Regions from separate parts of the Homo sapiens genome. Here region 2 is linked to region 1. The links are contacts of gene promoters, found by promoter capture Hi-C in blood cells and fetal thymus (Javierre and others, 2016). All regions are on one chromosome and are shown on one strand. Each heading gives the region's core, a stretch centred on a gene start or on the middle of the fragment in contact. The rest is flanking DNA. Distances are from core to core; before and after follow the strand shown. Region 1 holds the start of PTP4A3 (protein tyrosine phosphatase 4A3). Region 2 holds the start of THEM6 (thioesterase superfamily member 6).

The links. The method cuts DNA at HindIII sites, captures the fragments that hold promoters and counts their contacts. A CHiCAGO score of 5 or more calls a contact.
Region 2: the fragment with the promoter of THEM6 here is called in contact with the fragment with the promoter of PTP4A3 in region 1 in 2 of 17 cell types (endothelial precursors and erythroblasts); the score reaches 5.7 in endothelial precursors.

The regions. Positions count from the first base shown.
Region 1 is chr8:141,389,514-141,396,347 of GRCh38, forward strand. It overlaps PTP4A3 (protein tyrosine phosphatase 4A3), which reads left to right and starts at 2,508. Exons shown (of 6, transcript NM_032611.3): 1 at 2,508-2,571. ASTILCS (antisense transcript of PTP4A3, liver carcinoma survival associated) reads right to left here and starts at 3,108. Exons shown (of 2, transcript NR_187488.1): 1 at 2,895-3,108; 2 at 355-1,638. RefSeq lists an enhancer at 1,580-2,200. The HindIII fragment of the contact is 6,687 bases long and covers 1-4,164 here.
Region 2 is chr8:142,721,639-142,728,472 of GRCh38, forward strand. THEM6 (thioesterase superfamily member 6) reads left to right here and starts at 5,585. Exons shown (of 2, transcript NM_016647.3): 1 at 5,585-6,221. The coding sequence starts at 5,709. LNCOC1 (lncRNA associated with ovarian cancer 1) reads right to left here and starts at 5,335. Exons shown (of 3, transcript NR_038925.1): 1 at 5,084-5,335. RefSeq lists an enhancer at 5,091-5,310 and silencers at 5,341-5,780, 6,081-6,330. The HindIII fragment of the contact is 9,584 bases long and covers 1-6,834 here.

The DNA of each region.
Region 1 (6,834 bases), core at 1,258-3,757:
CACCGTGCCTGGGTTTGAATCTTGATTCTGCTTTCGCTTAGCTTCTGCTTCCTAATCTGCAAAATGGGGGTGTCAGGGATTCCTCTGCAGGGCTCAGTGTGGACTTGGTGGGTGGGTGTAAGTCCCTGGCATGTGGTCAGCACTCGGTGAATGTCTGAGAACTGAAATGAATCCAGCATGGAGGAGCCTCCTCCTTTGCTCCCGACTCCCTGCAGGATGGTAAGAGCGTGGGGAGGAAGGAGGCTCCAGCCTCTCGGGAGCCCACTCACCCCAGCAAATTTGGGTGGCTGGGATAGAAACCTCTCTGAGATTTTGGGCAGGAGAGGAGGAAAATAGCATGAAACAGGCAGGGGGTGTTGGTGCTGCTCAGGCTAGATGAAGCCAAACATTTATTTATTAATGCTTTTTTTTTTTTTATCTTTTTTGAGACAGGCTCTCGCTCTTTCACTTAGGCTGGGGTGCTGGCGGGATCAGGGCTTACTCTAGCCTTGTCCTCTTAGGCTCAGGTGATCCTCCCACCTCAATCTCCAAGCTGGGACTATAGGAGCATGCCACCATGACTGGCTAATTTTTTATTTTTTGTAGAGATAGGGTCCCACTATGTTACCTAGGCTGGTCTTGAATTCCTAGGCTCAAGTGATCCTCCCGCCTCAGCCTCCCAAATTGCTGGGATTATAGTGTGAGTCACTGTGCCCGGCCTTAAGCTAAACATTTAAAAAATAAGAATTAAAATGCAGCCACAGTGAAACGGGAAGGGGCTGCTTTTACAGGTGCTGAACTTCCCGGCAATAGAAGCATTTAATGGGAGGTTCCCTTTTTCCTAGGACCTCAAAGCTGGAGTACCAGGGATGTTGCCTTGACCTTCCCATGTGTGGATTTCTGCTTGAACACACCAAGTACAGGACACCCTGTTTAGCAGCTAAACGTGGGAATTGCACCAGCTTTACTCCCAACTTGCTGGGCAATCTTCGGGAGTTGCTGACCTTCTCTGTGTCTCATCAGCAAAACAGGGAGAACACTAGCTCTCCCAACATGGGCTGTGTGAGGACCAAATGAGCTGAGGAGCCCAGATTTGAACCCGGGTCTGCAAGGTTATGTCCTCTGAGCCATCCCCACCCCTGCCCTTAAGGACCAGGGGCCTCTGGACACCATCAGCTTGCCCACCTGTCCAGGATTTGCACGCACCTGCTCGGTGCCAGATGCTGGGCACTGGGGACAAACCAGGTGAGGTGTGGACCGTGACCTGTGTTGTCACTGATTGGGGGACTTTCTGGCAGAGTGGAGAGTGCAGTGGGCTGAGAGACAGGATGGCCAGTGGAGACTGAGCTCTCAGAGGCGGCGGCAGCTGATGGGGACCATGCAATGGGAAGGATGGAGGCCCTGGGATAGTCTGCGGTGAACTTCCAGGCAGAAGGAACAGCAGGTGCAAAGGCCTTTAGCTGGGAAGGAAACTCTGGGTTGGAGGAATAGCTTGCAGGCGCTCTGAGAGAGGCTGGCAGCCAGGTGGCAGGGAGGCAGCCCAGTCAGGTGGTCTTGGGACAGTTTAGGGTCTCTGGCCTTCACCAGTGAGGTGGTGTCTGGAGACTTTTGCAGACGAAGGCAGCTCTCACTCCCATCTTCCCGGGGTCCCTCTGGCTGCTGAGGGTGGATGGGTGGAAAAGCATCTTTCAGGGAAGTGGAGGCAGGGCTGGAGCAGTTGAACATCTGACTGGGCCAAGGGTCCAGGGACTGGCATGGAACAGGGCTGGGTGGGTGAGGCCGCCTGGGAGACCCCAGCTTGCCTCTGTTTCCCCCTGTACTGGGGCCTCCTGCGTGAACCAGCACTGGTTTTTCCAGTAACTGGAGCCACAAGCCTCCCTAGGAACGGCTGACCCATAAGAGGACGTCCTCAAGGTCCCCAAGGGCTAGAGGCTGAGATGCCGCCTTCGCCTGGGCGGGCCTCGCAGCCTGGAGGCAGGCGGTGGTGCAGCTCGGGCAGGCCCCGTCCACACGCCTCCCCGCTCTTCTGAGCACCACGCGTCCCGTGGGCTCCCTACCCGTCCTGATAACACGGCGGTCCGGGGGCCTCGAAGCCGGTCTGACCCCAAGTACCCGGGCCAGGCGGCTGCCGTCTTGTCGCCCCAGCCCATCCCCTCAGCCAGCCCGCCTGGCGGCACGGGACCTAGCCCCAGTCGACTTAGGGGGAAACTGAGAACTCCAGAAGTTTCGTGAACTCCCTGGCTTCGTCCGCATCCCGCCCTCTGCCTCTTCGCTCGGGCTTCAAAACTGCCCCTCCGACGCCCGCCTGCCCCAGGCCGACCTGGCCTAGGCGCCCGGCAGGCACAGGAGCCAAGGTCAGTCCCCGAGGCCGCCCGCGCGACCGGAGCCGCCTCCTCCCAGCCCAGGGGCGGCCTCGGGGGCGGCGGGCGCGCGGCCGCGGCGTGGGGAGCGCTCCCATTGGGCCGTGCCCCCACGTGACCCAGCGGGTCCGGCGCGCGCCCTAAGCCGGTGGAGCCGCGGCCGCGCCTGTGCGCGAGGGCGCGCGCGTCCCGAGCCCTCCACCCGTCGTGCCGGCGCCGCCCGGACCGCCAGGTCAGTCTCCTCCGCGCCCGCTCGGGGCGGGGGCGCGCGGCGCTTTGTGGAGGCGCGTGGGGGGCCGTCCGCGCGCGAGCCCGCCGCCCGCTCCGGGCACGGCTTCGGGGCCGCGCAGCCGGGAGGGCCGCCGCCTTCCCCCTGCCCGCGCGTCCCGGGACCCTGCGCCTGGCGGCCGATCCGGCGGGAACGTGGGCCTGGAGGCTGCCACGTGCCGGGGCCGAGCCTCAGGAGGCCGCTGTTTCCCCAGGCGAGCCACAGAACACCCCTGGCTGGAAGGGGGTGACCCGCTCCCGTTTCTGGGTGCGCGGGAGACCTCCTACCCTGAGTTCATCCTGCGCAGGGTCCCGCCCAGGATCTGGCTCTGCCCCCATTCACGGCTCATTTTCCTCAGCTGCACAGTTTGGGGGGCTGGAACCCCACAGCCTTCCGTGCCTCCAGGGCGGGTCGTAGATGTCAGTGGAGGTCAGGGGAAAGCAGAGCGTCAGGTCTCAGGCCGGGTGGAGTCCGCCTCAGACCATACCAGTGTTGGGACTCGGGCGGCGCCTCAGCCCTCCAAGCACACCCCGGTAGAATCAGGTCAGCAGCCTTGATCCACGTGCCTCAGGGATTAAACGGGTGACTCCTGACACGCCCCTGGGCAGCTGGTGGCCCAGGGGTGGGGTGGTGGCATGCTTAGCTCCAAGTGGGCAGAGCAGTTTCACCCTGCCGGTTCCCGGAGGGAAGCCCTTTATGAGGGAGGCTTCCCTGGCCCTCTGTGATAGCGGCTCCAAGGGCAGCGTGAGGTCCAGGCTAGCTGGTCACAGTGTGTGCCCGGGCACCCTCAGCCAAGACAGAAAGGCACGTGCTGCACCCCCTCTCTCTGCCTGCGGGCTCTGGGGTGTGCCCCGCACACGATGGTGGGTGTTGGGCATCCACCTAGTCTGTGGACCCTGGGGGCCCTGCTCCCAGGTTGGAGCAGTGTCCTCGGCTGCAGACCAGAGGAGGTCACTGAACACAGGGTGCCTGTGGCCTTGCACAGACAGAAGCCGCCTGGCAGCCCTGTGCAGAGCCGTGCTTCACTGAGTTCCTGCAATCCTCCCAAGAAGTTCGTTAACCCCATTTCTCAGATGAGGAGACTGAGGCCCACAAAGGTGGAGTTGGTGCAGCCCCTAGCCTGCGGGGCTAAGCAGAGCCTTGTTGTCCCCATCTGCAAAGGGGGCGTTGGAGCTGCTGTAAATGGGCCCCGAACCTGTCACCTGAGTGGAATTAGGCATTGGGGATCTCCCCATCACCACGCCGGCCCCCCTCACTGTGGTTACGAAGGAGGAGAAGCTGCCCTGTGTAGGAATTCCTGGGCTGTTTCCAAATAGCCCCGCTAGGGAGCTGGTCACCCCTCAACACCCCCAACGTGTTCTCCAAGCACTTACTCTGTGCCAGGCCCAATGCTGGACCTGGAGATGGGGCATGGCTGGCTGGCTGAGCGGGGCAGGTTGCGGACAGGCCCCCGCAGGCAGTCGGCGTGATGGGAGAAAATGCAGGCGGGGATGAGATGCAGCCTCCAGGTGGTTTCCTCAGCTGCCTGCTCCTCTCTGCCTTTGCCCTCCTCCCGGAAGCTTGCGCTGACCACTGGAGTAAGGCTGGGGGCCTCAGCTGGTCCCCTCTCTGTCCCAAGTAACAGCCCAGAACATGGTGAGGGTGGCTGGCTGATGCAGTCAGGCACTGGACATGGGAGGCAGGAGGAAGGCCGGGAGGTGGGCAGCTTTCTCAGACAAGTGGGCAGTTTGGATGGCGAGGAGGTCTTGGAGGCACCATGGGTGGCTGGGCTCAAAGATGACATGAGGGCATGCTTAACAGATGCTTAACCAAATCCTGAATTGGCATTGGCCAATTTCTGTGGTGTAACTACTCCCAAGCTACACAGACGTGACTTTACTGGCTGAGGACTTGGGCAGAGGTGCACACAGTCAGACTGAGAGGGGGGCATAAGCTGGTGTGAGCCCTCCCTCTCACCGCCAGGGTGGGCAGAGTGTCCGCTGGTGCCCAATGCCTATGCACGTGACCTCCTTAGGGACTTACATCCAGATGGCGGTGATACAGCTTGGGGAGGCCTCTCCCTGGTTGGCAGGTCCTGGCGAAAGGGTGAGTTAAGTGGAAAGTGTACCAGGCTGGTGTCCAGGTGGCATTTGGCCAGAGGGGCTGAGCTGGGAGCTCCTGGGCCTGGGGCTGGCAGATAGTGGTGATTTTTCGCCCCCCAAGACCTTGGGCTTGCCTTGTTCCATGAAGGTCCCAAATCTGACCAAAGGCTGTAACCAGATGGTCACTGTCCCAGACCACCCCAGGGCGCTTTCTCACCTCGAGAGCACCGTTTCTCCCCACCTCCACCCTGGCCGCCCTTGCTGTCACCTACTCCCTCTGGTCCCTGGCACCCCTCCCTGCCTGCAGTGGTGTTTCCTAGCAAGTGCAGCAGCCCGAGGCTGGGCTAGAGGCAGGAGGGCCTGGCCTCCCAGTGTCTTGCTGGATACTTGGTTTCTTGCCCCTCCGTTTCCACACCTGTAAAATGGGAGCAATGACAGGTCTTCCTGGCAGGACAGTGGTGAAGCTTGGTCACACGGGTGAACATGTGTGAGGTAAAAAAGACTTCCCATCCCTCCTTCTGACCTGGACCGGCTCGCAGGACCCATAGGCAGGGACCTGGGCAAGGTCCGAGGGCCGATGAGCCCCGTCCTCTCTGCACAGTTCAGAGTTGGGTGGGAGTGGCTGTGGGCTGCAGGAGGAGGTACTGCACTTCGCACAGTTACGTGGTCGGGTTGGCATCGCCGCCGCCTGACTTCGGCGCCCCGCGAGTTGGGTGTGTGCGGTTGGGGGCGGCCCAGAGTGTGCCCCACGCCTGCCAGTCGGGTAGGCCAGCCTCCCTGGAGAGAGGGGGGCCTCCCCAAGGTGGGACGGGGACAGGGACGGGTGCTTCCTTCCACCCAGGAGCCTGAGCAGAGGGTGGAGGGTCCTGGCAGCTACCTACGGCAGCTGAGAGCTGCGCTCTTTAGCCGAGCGGGATCAGGGCTACGTGGACACAGCCCGTGCCAGTGTGGGTGGGGCACGAGCTGTGGGTTCCGATGGCCCAGTAGGCGTTCACCTGGCAGAGAGTGTGCGCGTGTCTCCCCTCCTTGGGGCGCCTCAGGTCAGGACCCTGAGAACCTCACTTATCCTTTGAGCTGCGCCAAGGCTGTTGTACAAAAGACAGTTCAGAAAATAAGGACAGGCTGTTCCTCCCAGCCAAGGGTGTGGCCCTAAGGACCCCTAGGTGGGGCATCGCTTCCCGCCAGGCACGTGCCACTCAGTCTTGGGCTGCTTTAGTGGCAGCCTCCTGGTTTGGAAGCGGAACTGAGGGTCAGGGATGACCACATGGCTCAGGGCTCAGCTGGGGTCCTGAGAGTGGGCCCTCAGGTTTACCTTCCTCCTGGAGGGGAACTGGGGGCCATTGCCCAGTGCACCCCCACTTCCCCTTAGGTGCGTGGGCCACCCCTCCCTCCTGCAGCCCCCGTTCATCTACCCAGGATAGGTGCATGGGCCACCCCTCCCTCCTGCAGCCCCCGTTCATCTACCTGGGGAAGGTGCGTGGGCCACCCCTCCCTCCTGCAGCCCCCGTTCATCTACCCGGGGTAGGTGCGTGGGCCACCCCTCCCTCCTGCAGCCCCCGTTCATCTACCCAGTGGGGATGTCCCCTGGCTCCTCTCCTGGCATCTTCCCGGGATGTAGGGGTGCTCCCATGCCCCCCGGCTCCTCTCCTGGTGTCTTCCCCAGATGTAGGGGTGCCCTCATGTCAGGGCTTATGCTTCTAGAAGGAGTGGAAATGCAGCACAGTCATTGCTGTTGCCTGCCAAGGGCCACCCTGGCTGGGGACAGATGGGGCTGCCTCCCCTCTCCCACCCTGTCCTGGCCACCTGCCCCCGCCAACCCTGCCACTGGCTCAGAGGAAGCAGGCCTAACCTGATGTGTAACCCCCACCCCTGCCGTGACTGTAACCCCGTGCCATGTGAAGGTGGGGCTCCTTGGCAGTGCCTGGTGATTGCGGTACAGCCAGAACCGGCCCCATTATCTGGGCTGTGGGTGCCATTGGTCAGGACCGTGATGGACTCATACGTAAAACTTGATGCATTTTAACTCCCTTCATCCTAGAGGATTGAGACCTCTGGCGGGTAAGTGTTCATATTACCGTCCTGCCCTAGAGCCAGGGAAGGACCCTAGGGGAGAAGTGACGTGCCAGGGTCACTGCTGGGAGGAGAG
Region 2 (6,834 bases), core at 4,335-6,834, 1.3 Mb after region 1:
GCTTAGGGCAGTGAATGACTCAGTTGTTCCCAGTCATCCTATAGTTCCCAATCTATCCACACTCCTCTCTCAGATCCCTAGGCGCACTCAGTTCTACATGGTGCTGGATCTAGAGGACACTTACTTTTGTATCCCATTGCATCCCAAATTCTCCTACATTTTTGCCTTTGAATGGAAGTATCCAGAGACCCAGGAAACTTCCCAATATACCTGGACAGTGCTACCCCAGGGGTTTCAGGATAGCTCCTACCTCTCTGGGAAGGCCCTGGCAAAAGACCTCAGAGATCTTAAACTTACAAGTGGAATCTTATTGCAATATGTGGATGATTTGCTTATTGCTAGTGAGGGCTTCCATAGTTTTCAAGAACATACTATTAAAACCTTAAATTTCTTGGCTGAATGGGAATATAAGGTCTTCCCCTTAAAGGCCCAGATCTCCCAGACACAGGTTCGATGACTAGGGTTCATACTTACCCCAGAAGCCAGGATGCTTGCCCCAGACTGAAAGCGGGCCATTGCTTCACTACTAGTCCCTGGTAGTAGAAGAGAGCTGCACGGATTTCTGCAGATGGCTGGCTTCTGCTGGGTTTAGATCCTAAACTTTGGCCTCATACTTAAACCCACTCAAGAGTGGAGAAAACCAATTATCCCACTGGGTAGAAGCCTGTCAGCAAGCATATGAAACCCTAAAATCTGAGTTAGGAAGGCCCCTGACCTAGGACTCCCACAATTGTAGAAGCCTTTCTTCCTATATGTATAGGAGAGGTTCAGGCCAGCCCTGGATGTCCTAATTCAGAATCTGGAGTCCATCCAATGGCCAGTGGTTACTTTCAAAGCAATGAGACCCAGTAGCCCAGGGAAGGCCAAGCTGACTTAGGGCAGTGGTGGCCACCAGCCTCCTGGTCAGAGAGGCCTCCCAACTCACATGAGGCCAACCCCTTCAGGTTGACACTCCTCACCAGGTCTGGAATGTGTTAGAAATAAAAGAGCACCACTGGCTGGGGAAGCCTAACTTTATAGCAGGCCCTGCTGCTAGACACCCTCGACTGAACCTTAAAGGTGTGTTAGACCTTGAATCCTGCTGCCCTGGTTCCCTCGCCCACTTCAGAGACACAAACACACTTGTGTGGAGACTTTAGAGCAGACCTATTCTAGACAAATGGACCTGCAGGACTCCCCCTTAGAAAATACAGATAAAGAATTATTTACATCTGGGAACAGCTTTGTAGAAAATGGCATCCAAAAGACAAGCTATGCTGCTGTTGGCTTGAACCACATTGTAGAAGCAAAAGCCCTTGCCCCAAGCACTTCCACTCATGAAGCAGAGCTCAAAGCCCTAGTCATGGCTCTTTAACTAAGGGAAGGAAAATACTTAATGTATATCCTGCCTCTAAGTATGGATTCCTAGTGCTCCATGTTCATGCAGCTGTCTGGAAAGAGAGGAGATTGTGGACTCCTAGGAGCTCCCCCATAAAACATAAAAAAGTGATTCTGTCCCTTCTTGAGGCAGTTCAGCTCCCTGCCCAGATAGCTGTCATGCACCATGAAGGGCCCCAGCAGGCAGTTCTTTAACCAGCCGAGGAGACAGCTGAGCTGGTGAAGCTGCCAAACAGGTGGCCCAGACAGAGCGGCTTGGCCCCTTGGCTCCTGTAACCCATGTTCCTACCATAGGAAGGAGGGGCACTGGGAAAGGGACTGCTCATTCCATCCTAGGAAGCTGGGACAGAATGAATCTGCCCAACCCACTCCTCCTGTTGCTAGCCGCTTCCTAGCCACTTTCTTCTAGACGAAGATTTAAATCAGGTGGTAAAATACATCATTAACTTGGGACAAGTTCAGCAGGCCATCTTGCAATATGATAATAAGATGTGACCTCAGCCGGGTCATGGAGTTTCAGATCATTTCCCTGCTAGCCCAGGTGCACAGGTCCTACTCAAGACATGGCGAAAAGGAAGCCCAGAGGCTTAGTTCACTGAGAAATGAAAGGGTCCATACCAGGTTTCCTTGGCTACTCCATCAGCTGTACAGTTGGAAGGACTTGTCTCTAGAATAAAACCTTTTGCTTCTCCTGATGGACGACAGGCCTGCTTGGAGAAAACAGTCTACTCCCGTAAACCTATAGAGGACCTCAAGTATTTGTTCAAGAAGCTGCCTCTGGAAGACAGCAATAGTTAAGTAACATCCTTATATAAATGATATATACCAGGGGATATGCAGACTATCTTCAGGACCCTGGCTTGATACCCCCAACTGCACAATTCATAACCTGAACCTCTCCATTCTCAATGACACCAGGGGATATGCAGACTATCTTCAGGACCCTGGCTTGCTACCCACCAACTGCACAATTCATAACCTAAATCTCTCCATTCTCAATGACACCAGGGGACATTCGAATTTGGGCTCCTCTTGGAATTGTTTTCCCTCGAGGCCACGCTAATGACCTCCTCAACCACCCTGCTTGCCTAGCTCTTTCCCCCTGCATGGCTCTGTGGGCTTGGACACCCCAAGCCCAGGCCAAGGAAGGGCCAGGTCTGGCACCCAGAAGTCCCCCACTTGACCTTGACTCCTTCAAGTCCCCCAATAAACTGCCAGTGAACCACCACAAGCTGCCCAAATCCATTGCGTTAGACTGATGCAACTGAGTGATGGGGAAGGTGTGGGTCCCTCCAGCTTTCGTGGGTGCTAAGACTGCTGGGTGTCTGGCACTGCTCTGGCCCTGGGACACAGCAGTTAGGAGGCCAACCAGGCCCTGGCCTTCTGGCTTCAGAGTCCAAGAGGGACAGAAGTATTCCTTGCTTATGTATTCCCTGTGTAAGATTGCAGCAAGGCTATGCACCCTGGGAGAGGTTCGCTGTGCAAGGAGAGCCCTGGGGATCTTGCCCAGTCTCTGGGCCCAGGAAGCGGAAGATGGAAGAGGAGGGAACAGCATGTGGGTGGGAGGGGAGCTGGGAGAGCAGAAGTTGGGAATGAATGGGCAGGGGCAGGAGCAGAGGAGGTCTGGAGGGTGGGTAGAGACCTTGGAAGCTCCAACTGGTTTCTCATTCATCCATCTTCACCGGTATCTCCAGGGCTAAGCCTCCAGCTCTGGGTCCCTCCCCTGGCAGGAGAGGACACAGTGGTGTAAACCAAAAATGAAATTCTAAGCACCCCCACCATCTGAATGCACCCCTGCTCTTGACCAAGGGCAGTCCAGGGTTAACCTGAAACACTAGTTCAGACCACGACAGGAAATGGGTGTTGGATATGCCTCACTGTACCCTCCTCCCTTTGGATTTCAGGCCCAGCTGACCAGCAGTAACATCAACACACCCCTTAAAGACTGAGAGAACAGACTCTTTAAGTCTGATGAGAAACATTTACAATCTATTCTCTCTGAAGCCTGCTACCTGGAGGCTTCATCTGATCATGAAACACTGGTCTCCACGACCCCTTATCTTAACCAGACATTCCTTTCTATTAATGCTAAGTCTTTAAAAAATAACTTTTTTTTTTTTTTTTTTTTTGGAGAAGTGAGGTCTCTCTATGTTGCCCAAGCTGGTATCTAACTCCTGGGCTCAAATGGTCCTCAGCCTCCCCATGGCAAGGATTATAGAAATGGCCCACCATGCCCGGTCAACTTAACTCTTTCAATCAATTGCCAATCAGAAAATCTTTGAATCTGCCTATGACCTAGAAGTCCCTCTGTCACTTCCAGTTGTCCCCACCTTTCTGGACCAAACCAATGTCCATCCTGCAAGTATTCATTGATGTCTTATGTCTCCCTAAAATTTGTAAAACCCAGTTGCAGGCTGACCACTCTGGGTACAAGTTCTCAGGATCTTCTGAGGCCGTGTGACAGGCCACAGTCACTTAGATTTGGCTCAGAATAAATCTCTTCAAACATTGCACAGTGTTTCACTCTTTTTGTTGGCAAGGGGACAACATGGGTGACCAGGAGGCTGCATTCTTTGAGCAATGGCCAACAGGCTCAACGGCTATGTCCTCAGTCCCTTCAGCCCAAAAGGCCACCCCTCCCTGGGGCAGAGGGCTCAGAGCCCAGCTACGACAAGGTGACACTTCAGGGACAAGTGTGAGCAATGCTAGGGTGTTGGGAATAGGCCCCCAAAATCTGGCCATAAACAAAATCTCTGCAGCACTGTAACATGTTCATGATGGCCATGATGCCCACGCTGGGAGGTTGTGGGTTTACCGGAATAAGGGCAAGGAACACCTGGCCCACCCAGGGCAGAAAACCGCTTAAAGGCGTTCTTAAACCACAAACAATAGCATGAGCCATCTGTGACTTAAGGACATGCCCCTGCTGCAGATAACTAGCCAAACCCACCCCTTTATTTTGGCCCATCCCTTTGTTTCCCTAAGGGGTACTTTTAATCTATAATCTGTAGAAACTGTGCTTATCACTGGCTTGCTGTGAATAAACACGTGGGTAAATCTCTGTTGGAGGCTCTCAGCTCTGAAGGCTGTGAGACGCCTGATTTCCCACTCCACACCTCTATATTTCTGTGTGTATCTTTAATTCCTCTAGCACCGCTGGGTTAGGGTCTCCAGGACCGAGCTGGTCTCGGCACTGGGGGAGCTGCCCTGATAGGTAGTGAGCTCCCTGTCCCTGGGGCTATCAAGCAGAGCCAGGTGCCGCCCCAGGGAGCTCCTTCTTTGAGGGCGGTCCAGAACCCTGGAACCCCAGCCCAGGCCCAGGCCTGAATCCGGAGCTTGTTTAACCCAGCAATTCCGGGACCCCATCCCCGGTCGCTGGCATCCGCTGTCATTCGAGAGCCTGGGGCTGACGGGGAGAGCTGGTCCGGCCTTCTCTGGGCCGCCTTTCCTCCCCAGCCTCGTCAGGAAGGGGCACAGGACAGCCGAGCTGTGCGACAGCCCGCTGGGCCTGCGCCCCAGGGCCTCCGGCGACACTTGGAGTCCGCAGCTGAGTCACTGACTCTCACCCGGGCTCCCCCGCTTCCGCCCGGCCGTGATTTGCTCCGGTTTCAAAAGGGAGGAAGGGCGGGAATGCTCGGGAAGAGCCTGGGGTTGGCAGGACCTTTAGGGGGTGGAATGAATGTCGTGAGGGCGAGTAAGGAGGTACCGGCTGGGGCTGAAAATGCGCACGGGGACCATGAGCGTGATTCGCCCTGAGCCGCTGCGAACGCCCTGCGAGCTGGGGTGGCCCTGGAGGTCCTGGAGCAGAAGCTAGGTTCCCGCAGAGTCCGCTGCAGCGCCGCTGGCGATCGGGCTGGGTCCCATTTTCCACGAAAAGTCCCGCGGCTTCGGCCGCGGAGGTGCTGGAGCCTTTGCGCTCAGACGAAGGGCCGAACGGCCAGGGCCAGGCCGCGTCTTCAGAGCCTGGCGAGGGTCTCGCGCTGCTGGGAAGGCGGAGACGCCGGGGCGCGCGTGCACCCTCGCGCCTGCAGCGCCGCGCACGGCCGCCAGGTGCCGCTGTGGCGCTCAGCGCGCCGCCCGCCCCGCCCCAGGGAACGCGAAAGTGGCGCGGGCCTGGACGGCGGGACGGACCACGTAGGGCGCTGAGAAGGTCGCGCCACGGTGGGCGGGGCTCCGGGCCCCTCCCCCTCGGCCGCCCTCGCGCTGTGGTTCGCTCCGGGCGCGCTGCGCTCGTGAGTTCCCAGGAGGCCTGGCGGGCACCGTAACCAGCGCCGCGGACACCGGCACCGGCGCCACGGACTCCGCAGGACCCCGCGCCCGCCGCCGCCGCTATGCTGGGGCTGCTGGTGGCGTTGCTGGCCCTGGGGCTCGCTGTCTTTGCGCTGCTGGACGTCTGGTACCTGGTGCGCCTTCCGTGCGCCGTGCTGCGCGCGCGCCTGCTGCAGCCGCGCGTCCGTGACCTGCTAGCTGAGCAGCGCTTCCCGGGCCGCGTGCTGCCCTCGGACTTGGACCTGCTGCTGCACATGAACAACGCGCGCTACCTGCGCGAGGCCGACTTTGCGCGCGTCGCGCACCTGACCCGCTGCGGGGTGCTCGGGGCGCTGAGGGAGTTGCGGGCGCACACGGTGCTGGCGGCCTCGTGCGCGCGCCACCGCCGCTCGCTGCGCCTGCTGGAGCCCTTCGAGGTGCGCACCCGCCTGCTGGGCTGGGACGACCGCGCGTTCTACCTGGAGGCGCGCTTTGTCAGCCTGCGGGACGGCTTCGTGTGCGCGCTGCTGCGCTTCCGGCAGCACCTGCTGGGCACCTCACCCGAGCGCGTCGTGCAGCACCTGTGCCAGCGCAGGGTGAGCGGCCCCCGCCCCTGGCCCCGGAGCACGGCCTTTGTGGGACCTCCGGGGGCTCCTCCTAGTCCCTGGCCCCCTCCCCTAGGGAAGGCCCGCTGCCTGCACCTCTTTCGGATACTGCTGGAGTCCTGCCTCTTACCGCTCCCGCCCCTCCCTCTCTACCGGGGGCATTCCTCACTGATGCCTTTGTTCGTGGGGGTTCCTAGGGTCCCCGAATCAACTCTTCATAGTCGGGCTTAGCGTGCTTCCCTCCTGCCATTTCTTAACCTGGCCCCTCACGGTTTCGTGTTCACCCCTCTCCTCTCTCCTGGTACTCTGTTCTGTGGCTGGAGTGTTGACCTCTCTGGTCCTTGGTCCTGAATATAGGTTGGAGAGGTGATCAGTTAGAAGAGGTTCCTAGGAGTTCCCGAGGACCTGAGCCCCCCTTTCACACAGCTTAGAGCTGAAGGGCTGGGTTCTGGTCACCTGGGTTTGGGGTTGAGGTATTGAGCCGAGTAGCTGAAAGCCTTCTGGCCTTTCTGCAGTTGGAGAGAGGAGGGCCATGCACCTCCCAGGGCTCGCTCCTCCCAGCAGGGCAGAACCGCCCCTGCAGCATGGCACCTGGGGCCCTGGG